Linked DNA regions of Homo sapiens: regions 2 and 3 are each linked to region 1. The links are contacts of gene promoters, found by promoter capture Hi-C in human tissues and cell types (Jung and others, 2019). All regions are on one chromosome and are shown on one strand. The core of a region is centred on a gene start or on the middle of the fragment in contact, and the rest is flanking DNA. Distances in the headings are between cores, read along the strand shown. Region 1 holds the start of MAP1LC3B (microtubule associated protein 1 light chain 3 beta). Region 2 overlaps MTHFSD (methenyltetrahydrofolate synthetase domain containing). Region 3 overlaps FOXL1 (forkhead box L1).

Region 1 (3,515 bases), core at 282-2,781:
GGTCTGAGGGGGGCCGCTGGATCGCTTTAGCCCGGGAGGTCGAGGCTGCAGTGGGCTGTGATTGCACCACTGCACTCCAGCCCAGGTGACAGAGTGAGACCCTGTCTCAAAATAAAAAAGAAAAGAAAATCTGTCTTTAATGCTGCTCTCAGGGCTCAATAAGCCTAGACACTACAGTAAAGAGTTCATTAAGGTGACTAACAAGAAAACTACTAACAAAAAAGGCACGTGTAAGTCTTGCTAACCAACGGACTGCCTCAAGAGGCTGTCTGAAAAGATATGCTTGGCAAGCTAAGGTCCATTTTAATTTGCTTAAGTTTCTCAGGCATAAGAAAAAAAATAATGGTCAATGAGACCTGCAAAACTATATCCAAACTCAAATGAATGCTAAACTCTTTCTAGACTCCGGGAAACTAGGCAAAAGCAGACAAACAGCACCACTGTGTGGGCTCCTGACGAGGATGGCGGCAGGCATTCGCAGTCCACCGCGATGAACACGGTGCTTCCCTTCCAAACCGGTGTCTGGAACTTAGGCAACAACAGATACCTGGATCTGCGGCGTTCTCTTGCTCAAGCGGGAAATAATCACTTCGCATCATCTGCGTGGAGTAAATATTGTGATGGTGACACCTGCACGTTTAACCAAATGCCAGCACACCTAAGCTGGGTTTCCAGTCTGAACCGGCAGAAAAGGGATGTATTCGGTATTCCTGGTGCCAAGGTGAGAACGTAATCGCAAACCCAAGAGAAGTCTCCCACCCCAGCTCCTGGGCTACAGACAGGAACTGGCAACACCGCTGTGGGCCGTCCCGGGCGCGGCGAGGCCGGGGCCCAGCACATTCCCCTCCTCTCGACCGAGGCACTGAGGTCTGTAAGAGGCACTCGCACCCGGGCGGGCTCCCTCGACGGGAAAACCAGCCCTGAAGGTGACGCGCTGGGTCCCGGCGCAGCCCCGCTTCAGAGCCGAACGGCCCAGCGCGGCCCCGGGGGCTGTTGGGCCCCAGAAGCGCGACCCTCGCCCGCAGCGCGCTTGCGGGGGCGGCGGTGGCCGGGGTACGGCAGGCACCCCGCCGCGGAGGGCGCGGGGTGATTCAGCAGGCCCGGGGCCCCGAGCGCACCGGCCCCCGCCCGCCCTCCGCCGGCTGCCTCCTCCCAGGCCTCCGAGAGGTCCGCAGGCCGCCCCGGCCCAGACCAGCCCCTGGCCCTCCCGGCTCGGTCCCGGCCTGGGTCCCTCACGGGGCCCCGGGCCCCGCATCCCTCGGCCCCGCCGGCCGGCAGCCACCGGCCCCGCTCGGCCTCCCGGCTCGGCCCCGACCCCTCACGGCGTCCCAGGCCCTGCCGCCCTCCACAGCTCGGACCCCGGCCCCGCCGCACCCGCCGCCCTCGCGGCGACACTCACCGAAGGTGCGGCGCTGCTTGAAGGTCTTCTCCGACGGCATGGTGCAGGGATCTGGGCGGCGGCGGCGGCGACGACGCGAGGGTCCCGGCGGCTCCCGGGGGCGGCGGCTGCTGCGGCGGCGAATCCGACTCTGGCGATAGCCACTTCCCTTGTATCTCCTCAGCCCGCAGCCTGGTCAGGTGACTCGCGACGCGTCACCGAGGGGCGGGGCCAGAGCCGGCCGGGGCCGCCGCCATGACGGGCGTGGCGGAACCCAGCAGCGGCACGCAGCGTGGGGGCGGAGCAGGTGTGTGCGCGTGCGCGATGGGCGAAACGCGCGCTCTGCGCATGCTCCCGGTCGTGCCCCAGCCCCGCCCAGCACCGCTGGGCGCCTGAGGCCCCTGAGGTGACGGTTGTGGGCTGGGCCGCACCCCGGGTCTGTGGGCGCTCGGGAGCCTGCTGCCCGGCCCTGAGGAGATGGCAGCGCGGGGCGGGGGAGGCTGAGCCACAGGCGGGGTGTCCCGGGGCACTCTTGAGGGAGGGGTCAGAGGAAGGGACATGGGGCAAATCCGACCATCCTTTCCCCTCCAGAGAGACTTGGTGGTGCTGCCCGAGACGCCGGCACCCGGGGCTGAGGCGCGCAGGGCAGGCCGCGCCGTCTCCGGGAGGCAGGGTCGCCGCTCGCCCGTGGAGCCCTGGCCCCCTCTGCGTGCAGGGGCGCGCGTGGTCCGTGGGTGGCTTCCGGGGAGTGGCCGCTGGTGACCTCCGCCCGCGGTCACTCGACGCCCAGCCTTGGCGCGTTTGCGCAACTGCTTTTGTCCCGAGCCTTCATTCTGGGCGCAGTCCCCTCTCCCAGTCCCCCTGCCGCGGCGCCTGGAACTCTCCTGGTGGCTGTAAGATTTTCCTACCGTTAGGTCGTCTGTGGCGACTGCCAGGCCTGCCCCACATCGCTAGCCGCCCTGTCTACCCCTCAGCCTCCCAGCCACTAAACTCGCTGGACAACCTTACGCTAGTGACAGTTTTTGAGTCTCAGACTCATCTGTGAAAGGGCAGTCATATTTGAGGACTCCAAATGGGCTGCAGTGCGTAAACCACCATGCGATATTTGGTTGCTATTGCCCACCTCAGCCTGTGGCCAATGTGTCTCTGTAGGAACAGCACTAGATTCTTTGGGGTTTTTTTGAGACAGGGTCTTGCTCTGTTGCCCAGCCTGGAATGCAGTGGCACGATCATAGCTCGCGGCGGCCTCGGTCGCCTGGGCTCAAGGGATCCTCCTGCCTCAGCCTCCCGAGAAGCTGGGAGTAGAGCCGGGATCTCGCTGTGTTGCCCGGGCTGGTCTTGAACTCCTGGCCTCAAGCAACCCTCCCGCCTCGGCCTCCTTAAGAGTTGGGATTACAGGCGTGAGCCACTGCTCCCGGCTATTTGGCTGTTTTTGTTCTTTAACATCTAATACTTTGAAAGAGCCCCATAGTTCCAGGATTTCTCCTTTTGACTTTGTAAAAGCCTTTCTTCTATCCCAATTGGATAAAGTAATTGGATTAGGCTAATACACTCTACACTGTAAGCTTGAATCATACAAAACATGAAAATAGCGGGGGGCGGTGGCTCCAAGCCTGTAAACCCAGCTCTCAGGGAGGCAGAGGCTGGGAGGATCGCTTGAGCCCAGGAGTTTGAGACCTGACTGGGCAACATAGCAAGACCCCGTCCTCCACAAAAAAGAAGAAAAAAAGTATGAAAATATATTTCTCGCGCCAGGTGCGGCGACTCATGCCTGTAATTCCAGCACTTTGGGAGGTCAAGGCAGGAGGATCACGAGGTCAAGAGTTCGAGACCAGCCTGGTCAACATGGCGAAACCCCCATCTCTACTAAAAATACAAAAATTAGCCGGGTGTGGTGGCAGGCGCCTGTAATCCCAGCTACTCGGGAGGCTGAGGCAGGAGAATCGCTTGAAACCGGAAGGCAGAGGTTGCAGCGAGCCAAGATCCTGCCACTGCACTCCAGCCTGGGGGAAAGAGCGAAACTCCATCTCAAAAAAAAAAAGAAAGAAAATATATTTCTCAAAGTGCTTTTATACAGTTGGGATTTCTTCTAGAGAAGCCAACTACTGTCATAGATCCTTGTATAATTAATTTACTC
Region 2 (3,515 bases), core at 373-2,872, 850 kb after region 1:
AGTTTCTATTTTGCACGAAATTGGCAAATTATAAATTCCTTATTGTAAGAAAAGGGAAGACGGGTGATCTGGTTCTCTGGCACTGCCCGGTGTTAACCTGCGATGTTCAGTATTGTGGAGCTTTTTCTTATTCCCGGCCTGTTCATCAGGTGCCACCAGAGCGACTGGGGAGACAGGATAGAATTTCCAAAACATGCTCCATTGGAAATTGCCTCACCAGTTCTAAGTGAGTAATTGCTGATAATTACATATTTAAGATTTTCTTGAATGCCTCACAATTTAGTAAAACCAAGTGTACAAATATGACTTTAGGGTGCATTATAATAAAATTGGTCATGTATTTTACAGTTAAGTCGAATTTGGTGACTTTTTTAAGAATCTTAAGGTAAACTCCAAGTCATTTAATTTTTAATCTACTGAGAAGAAAAAATAAGACAATTGAAGATACGCTTTTTTATGGGATTTGCCACTTAAGCCTAATGTATAAAACTGGAACGTTTCATTGTTTACTTATTAGCACCCTGCTTATTCCAAAAATAGAATTTGATATGGTTTCTAAAAATACATACAATAAAGTAAAAAATATATATATAGAGAGAGAAAGGAGCAAAGGAAAAAGAAAGATAGAAAACTGAGACGAAAGCATGGTGATGGTCAGCATTCACAAATGCAAGCCGTCTCTTCCTTTGCAGTTGGTCAGTGCCTGCCCCCGTGGACCCTGCGAGATGATGAGAACACAGGGTTTCCTGCAGTGCAGGGTTTCCTGGACTAAGCCCCCTTCTGTGACTGTCGGGAGACCCCCAAGCCACCCGTATGCACTGATCCATACGGAACTTGTCATAGCACTGCAGGCAGATCCCACCGCCACATCGAATGATCAGTTACTGCTGGATACGGGACTGAAAATGGCTTTTTCCTGAGTCTTACATAAACCGTGTTATGAGAACCATGAACATATTCAGCTTCCCTATTCTTTATATGCATGCCTGCATTAGTATAAAGCGGTACACTTTTGGGACATTTTGGTTGAAGGGATAATTTTTTAGAAGCGAGTATATTGTACATAAAGATAGTGGCCTTCAGGATTTTATATTGAATAAATATGTCATACAGTGTTTACTGACCATGTCTTATGTGCTAAATGCATACGTTTTGTTATTTAATTCCAACACTGGTCCGACGAGGCAGAGGGTGGTGTCCCTGTCTTACAGCTGAAGAAACTGAGGCTCAGAGAGCTCCAGCCTGCTGGGGACCTGTGGCTCAGAGGCTCTGAACCCAGTTCCCTGGGACTCTGCCCCTGTGTTTTCACCACTGTGCTCTTCTGCCTTATGGGGAAAAACGATTTGTTAAATGTTATGAAGTTGGCAGCCTATGAATTTGTGCTGTGAGTTCCTCTTGGCCGCCTTTCTGGGAAAGAGACTGGGGAAACTGTGCCCTAAAGCGGTTTCTGGAATGCGGCTTCTCCTGAAACGCCACATCTCCGGTGTTGCGTGTGCCTGCATCTGTTTTGTCCAAGAGGTTGATTCAAACCCTGAGTGCACTTTGATCATGAATTATAAAATGAGGAAGCAGCTGGAGTTGAAGTTTTCCAATCCGTATCTCTGTGTGCAGGGTGTGAGGAACTACAGTGTCCCCATAGGCTTGGACTCCAGAGTCCTCGTGGATTTAGTTGTGGTGGGATCCGTCGCCGTTTCTGAAAAAGGTAAGACTAGCAGATGGGAACCCTTGAGTGTGACAGCTCTGCCTGAAGGCGGCTGCGTGCCAGGCTGTTTGTCTTTCAAAAGTCGCCAGTGGTGTCTGCTTTCTGGATGCGCTTACCTGGTCTCCGAAGCCGCTGCATTTTTCAGAGGTGAAGAATTGGCTCAGCCCACCCGCTTCTGGCCCCAGCCCAACATGTGTACAGCATTTTCACTTTTCTTAGCAGGAAAAACAAAGTGAGATAACTCTCTGTTCAGGTGGTGAAAGGTTTTCTCTCTGTTCTTGAGTGAGCTGGAGCTTAATTTCTTTTCAGTATGTCAGTAAATAGTTGGTTTTGGAGGGACTCCAGCAAATGGAAAAACAGTAGGTTCCAAGCTTTGTTTTTATTATGAAGCAGCAGACTCTTGAACAACACGGTGTGTCCGAGACTCCTGAACAACGTGGTGTGTCCGAGACTCCTGAACAACGTGGTGTGTCCGAGACTTCTTCTCAGGCCTGGTGCTTTGCCACGCTGCATGTGAGGCAGGCTGCTCTCGGTCCACAAGGCCAGGGGGCCCTTGCTAAGAGGGCAGGGTCACCACACCACCTCTTGCTGTCTCCAGCTTCAGGGTGCCCTCTTTTCCCAGCCACCACTGGAGCTGATGTGGGGACATTGTTCTTTATTCTTTGCTTTCAGTGCATTCCCAGTTTCTGGTGCTTCGTCTGTGTCATCGGGGCTGGGGACTCAGGAGCGCACTGTTCTGGTATACCTGCTACACCTGCTGTGTGCCAGGCAGGCACTGGGTGGTCTTTAAGTGCATGGTGTGTGGGTGGGCCAGACACGAGAGCTGGACCAGGACAGGACGTGACGTGCTCAGTGCTGGACACAAGTCAGGACCGACGGGAGGGGGAAGGGGAGTCTGAGGAGGGACGTGCCAGCCTGGAGGGGGCATCTCCTCAGTAGCGGCCTCAGGGCTGGCTCCTGCATGCCGGCCACAGTCCAGGCAGAGGGGACTGAAGGGTCCTCAGGCAGCAGGCCCTTTACTAGGTTGCGGCCCCTTCTCAGCAGCCTTGAGGCCAGATGATGGGACTTGGGCTCTTGGTGGTGGGAAATCAGCAAAGGTCCCCTCTTGGAAAATATCATCAGGTTCAGGGATGTATAAAGAAGAAAGTAACACTTCGTAAGTTTCATCGTTTAGCTAACCCCCTGTGTAAAGTAGTAAAGTAACCATGTGTCTGCTTAGAAAATTGAACAGCACAGAAAGCTGCACCATAAGTCTTCCCTGTTCCTTCCCAGCTGCCCCATTAGGAGTTCCTAGTGTAGACGTTGTACATAGTAGCATGCGTGTGAGACACAGATATCTTTTTTTTTTAAGTTCCGGGATACATGTGTAGGATGTGCAGGTTTGTTACATAGGTAAACGTGTTCCATGGTGATTTGCTGCACCTACCAACCCATCACCTAAGTATTAAGCCCAGCATGCATTAGCTATTTTACCTGATGTTCTCCCTCCCACTGCCCCTGCCCTGACAGGCCCCAGTATGTGTTGTTCCCCTCCCTGTGTCCATATGTTCTCATTGTTCAGCTCCCACTTACGAGTGAGAACATGCAGTGCTAGGTTTTCTGTTCCTGCGTTCGTTTGCTGAGGATAATGTTTTCCAGCTCCATCCATGTCCCTGCAAAGGACATGCTCTCATTCCTTTTTATGGCTGCATAGTATTCCATAGTGTATATGTACCACATTTTCTTTATCCAGCCTATCGTTGATGAGCATTTGGGTTGATTCCATGTCATTGTTATTGTGAATAGTGCTACAGTGAACCTACATGTGCACGTG
Region 3 (3,515 bases), core at 485-2,984, 810 kb after region 1:
ACTGCCCGCTCCAGTGATCAGGCCCCACTCCAGGTCACTGTAAACACCTGTGGCCCCTGCCTAGCCCTGAAGAACTCAGCACTGGGGCCTCTGGATAAGGACCAGCAGAGGAGAGAGCTTGTCATGTGGCTATTCAGGTGTATTTAAAAAACTGCTTTAAATGTGAGTCAAAAGAATCTTACTTTTCCACAAACTCACGCTTTTTATTTTTAATGGACAAACTTTGCTTTTTATCATTTATGTTTTTCATTCTATGAAACAACCTTTATTTCATGGAAACAAGACTCCATCCACCATGAAGCCAGGAAGTGCACAAAATCATGGCTCTCCCCTTATTTTCTCACTCCTGGGTGCAGCTGGTTACTGGAAACGTCACCTACCTTTGTGATGTTAACATTAACCTGCCAGGGTCTGGGCAGGCTGGCTCTGGCTTTCAGCTGTAACAATAATTATATGTGGCTAATTCTTTAACATACACACGGGCATACACTCACCACTTTGAGTGAAATGGTGAAGACCACCATTCAAACGGGCACAATTAAATCTGAAAATGGCTAAGAAGGTCCTATTCAGGTTCTCAAAACTCTTATGGTTCACTGGAGGCCCAGGAGGCCGTTTGTTTCTAGAAAAGCCAGCAACTAGATGAGGCCAGGCAGAGCAAGAGTCCTTTGTAAAGTTCTCTGTCCTTGTGAACGGAGGGAAAAGTTCTCAAAGCGGGTGTCTTCCGCGATGTTTAAATAAAATCTGTCAGTTTCACTATACTAACACAGAACAATAAAGTTATCCCTGGTTCATACTACATAGAGAAACAAAACTATTAAAGCTATATAGAAATTATTATCTATTTTTAAAAACTATATAGAAAAACAAAATCTTTCAAATAGTATCAATACTTGGGTTAAAGTGAAAGGACTCAGTACTTGATCTGAGTCTCAGGTATATTCAAAAAAGATACATTTATGAGCATTCATGTACACAGAACAAATACACACACACACCCCTACACATTCATGTATATATATGTATATACATATATATAAACGTGTACATATGTATACACACTTTGTTATCAAACATGTGCCTGCCATATCCTCATTATGATCAGTGCACTCATATGTGTGTGGGTATTTGTTTGTGTGTGTGTGTAATCAGGGCTTGAACCAAAGATCATTTACAGAAGACAGATCTGTTCCCTTTGTTTAGATGAGAGCAGAGAGGTATTCCTTCAGATTGCCTAAGAGTACAATGATAAGCTTGCTTCTGGCTCACCCTAATTATAGCTGAGATTTTGTTTTAATTAAGAGCAGAAACTATTGACCTTATTGAGCCATAATTTTGAGCCAACGATTAAATATGGATCAATAGAACAGCTATTCGGATTGGTAAGACCCAAACCTCCTCTTTTTGGTTCAGGAGGAAGGAATACACATGCAATTATATAGATTACATAAAAACGACCTCAGTATCCACTTGTCTTAGCTTTTCTAAACCAGACAAAAGTTGGGATTAAATAGAATTTCTCTTTATGCATGTATAAACACACAAAGTGGATACATCTGCATTTTTTCTGTGTCATAAAAGTAACATTCGTACAATACTTTTTGGAATAGTAACTTTAAAATACGACCCTTTTAAAACTGCAGTATCAAATTATTTGCTTCTTCAAAACATAGCCATCACAAATTAACAAAACCTCCCAAGATAACATACAAACACAAAAAAGAAAAAGGAAAGATTAAAAACCGATTCAATACGGCAGAATTAACTCATCGTGCTTTCTGATATGGAGGCAGCTTCCTGGGCCCGGCATCCTCTCCACTCCTTCCCCTCCATCTGTGTGTTTACCCCTCAGAAGCCAGAGCCTCCTGAGATGCTAACACGACTCCCAGATATAATCCCAGTCTCCTCTTTCTTATTACACTGTTTGTTTATTTCCCTCCAGTAATCCACTGAACCAGTCACTGAGAGGTTAATGAAAAAACAACTTTATTCACAGAGGCTGAGAGTTTGGGATAGCAAAATATCCAGTGACAGCCCTTTCGCTACATTTTCAGTGAATCACAGTGAGCCTGGATCTCAGCAATGGCTCCTCCTGGAAGTTCTTCCAATCAAGGCTGGCCTGAAGTTTCCCAGAGTCTTCCCACTGGCCTGGGTAGAACCCAGTCGTGGAAGCCTGGTTCAGCATGGATAGGAGAATGAATTTTCCAAAAGTCACCTCTATGCCTGTGAATTATCCAATTACTCTGCCGGCCTGAAATGTCCTTTCCAACACATTGACCAACAGGCCCTCTGGATTCAAAGTTTGTCATCATTTTTAGACAAGTCCTGGAAACTATTTTAAAAGCGATCTTAAAGACCTCCCTCCCAACCTATTTCCAATAGTGCGTGACTACTTGTGTCTTTATCACATGACATAAAATAAAAGTGACTTAGAGGTTCAGAAAATTGCATTTCAGGGCCTCGAAGATTACCCAGCTAGAGATGGCATAGAGGTCGGTTGCATTTCCCCGGAAGCTGCAAGCTGAACTTGGTTGTGAACATCTCAATGTTCTTAATTAGATTTTCGTTGCAGACCTCTTCTCCCCTCCCCAGACTGCCAGTCACCTCTTTAAGGTTTTGATTTAGTATCAGCCTCCAGGCCTGCCTGGCAGGGCTGGGAGGGAAGAGCGGGCGGCTGCAGGGGGTGCGGGGGCCAGGAGTGTCTGGGAGATTCCTGCCATCAAACCTCAGGTCCTCTGGGGCCCAGAGAGGCCCCTTCCAGCGGACACCAGCACGTCCCCTTATTCTTCCCCCGCATTCATCCCTCTCTCTCTCTGCATCTGCTTTTGGTTGTTTCACCCAACTTTTTAAATTAAATGTAGTCTTTCATTATCTGTTTCTGAAAAATATAGCGACCACCAAGCCTGGATCTTGAAAAAACATGGAAATCAAAACTCTGACATTGTCCAAGGCATATCCCCTTCCCCTCACACCCTTCCTCATGGTATCCCTTGAAATATTTTGATCCCTTAAAAACAAAAGCAAAAGGATAGGACGTCTGCTGTTGTGGCTTACATAGCTGCATGTGTATTGGCTAATGAGCTATCGTAATGCAAGAAGATGTTATATAGAGTGCACTTTCTTAATAAAAATTGTTAATACAAGCGTTTTCAAAGGTCAATGCTTAGAGTCAAGTATTTATGCAAAGAATGAAACATGTTCTTTTTACTACCCAGAAAGAAATTAAGAGAAAAAGTCTCTGTTTAAAATAAAAGTGTTATTGCTCTGGGTGGTTATCAGCTTCTATAGCTGAACATTGGTCATAAATCCTCATCGGGCCCTACATCTCTCAGAAAACCTGAAAACCCGGGGTCACCCCCGGCACCTCCACAACTTCAAGTCAGGAACAAACCCAGCTGTGACCACCCACCACCCAGATGGGCTCAAAACCAAGGCCTGAGCCACACGGCAACAGCGAAGCAGGCGACGGTCATACGGGGGTCCCCGGTCGAAAGGACCTCAACTGCACCTGTAAG

What was found. The method cuts DNA at HindIII sites, captures the fragments that hold promoters and counts their contacts. A contact is called where the count stands out against the background at its distance.
Region 2: a fragment that was not itself captured here is called in contact with the fragment with the promoter of MAP1LC3B in region 1 in 2 of the 25 tissues and cell types used here (liver and lymphoblastoid cells).
Region 3: a fragment that was not itself captured here is called in contact with the fragment with the promoter of MAP1LC3B in region 1 in 1 of the 25 tissues and cell types used here (dorsolateral prefrontal cortex).

The regions. Positions count from the first base shown.
Region 1 is chr16:87,390,352-87,393,866 of GRCh38, reverse strand. It overlaps MAP1LC3B (microtubule associated protein 1 light chain 3 beta), which reads right to left and starts at 1,531. Exons shown (of 4, transcript NM_022818.5): 1 at 1,400-1,531. The coding sequence starts at 1,439. It also overlaps a transcript of FBXO31 not described here. RefSeq lists enhancers at 349-398, 1,615-2,573 and silencers at 1,019-1,148, 1,259-1,428, 1,449-2,098. The HindIII fragment of the contact is 8,903 bases long and covers 1-3,515 here.
Region 2 is chr16:86,544,746-86,548,260 of GRCh38, reverse strand. MTHFSD (methenyltetrahydrofolate synthetase domain containing) reads left to right here. Exons shown (of 8, transcript NM_001159377.2): 5 at 1,612-1,702. Among named protein-coding and RNA genes, the nearest start is that of MTHFSD, 8.7 kb to the left of the region's middle. The HindIII fragment of the contact is 8,046 bases long and covers 1-3,515 here.
Region 3 is chr16:86,580,146-86,583,660 of GRCh38, reverse strand. FOXL1 (forkhead box L1) reads right to left here. Exons shown (of 1, transcript NM_005250.3): 1 at 183-3,515. Among named protein-coding and RNA genes, the nearest start is that of FOXL1, 3.4 kb to the right of the region's middle. The HindIII fragment of the contact is 3,027 bases long and covers 221-3,247 here.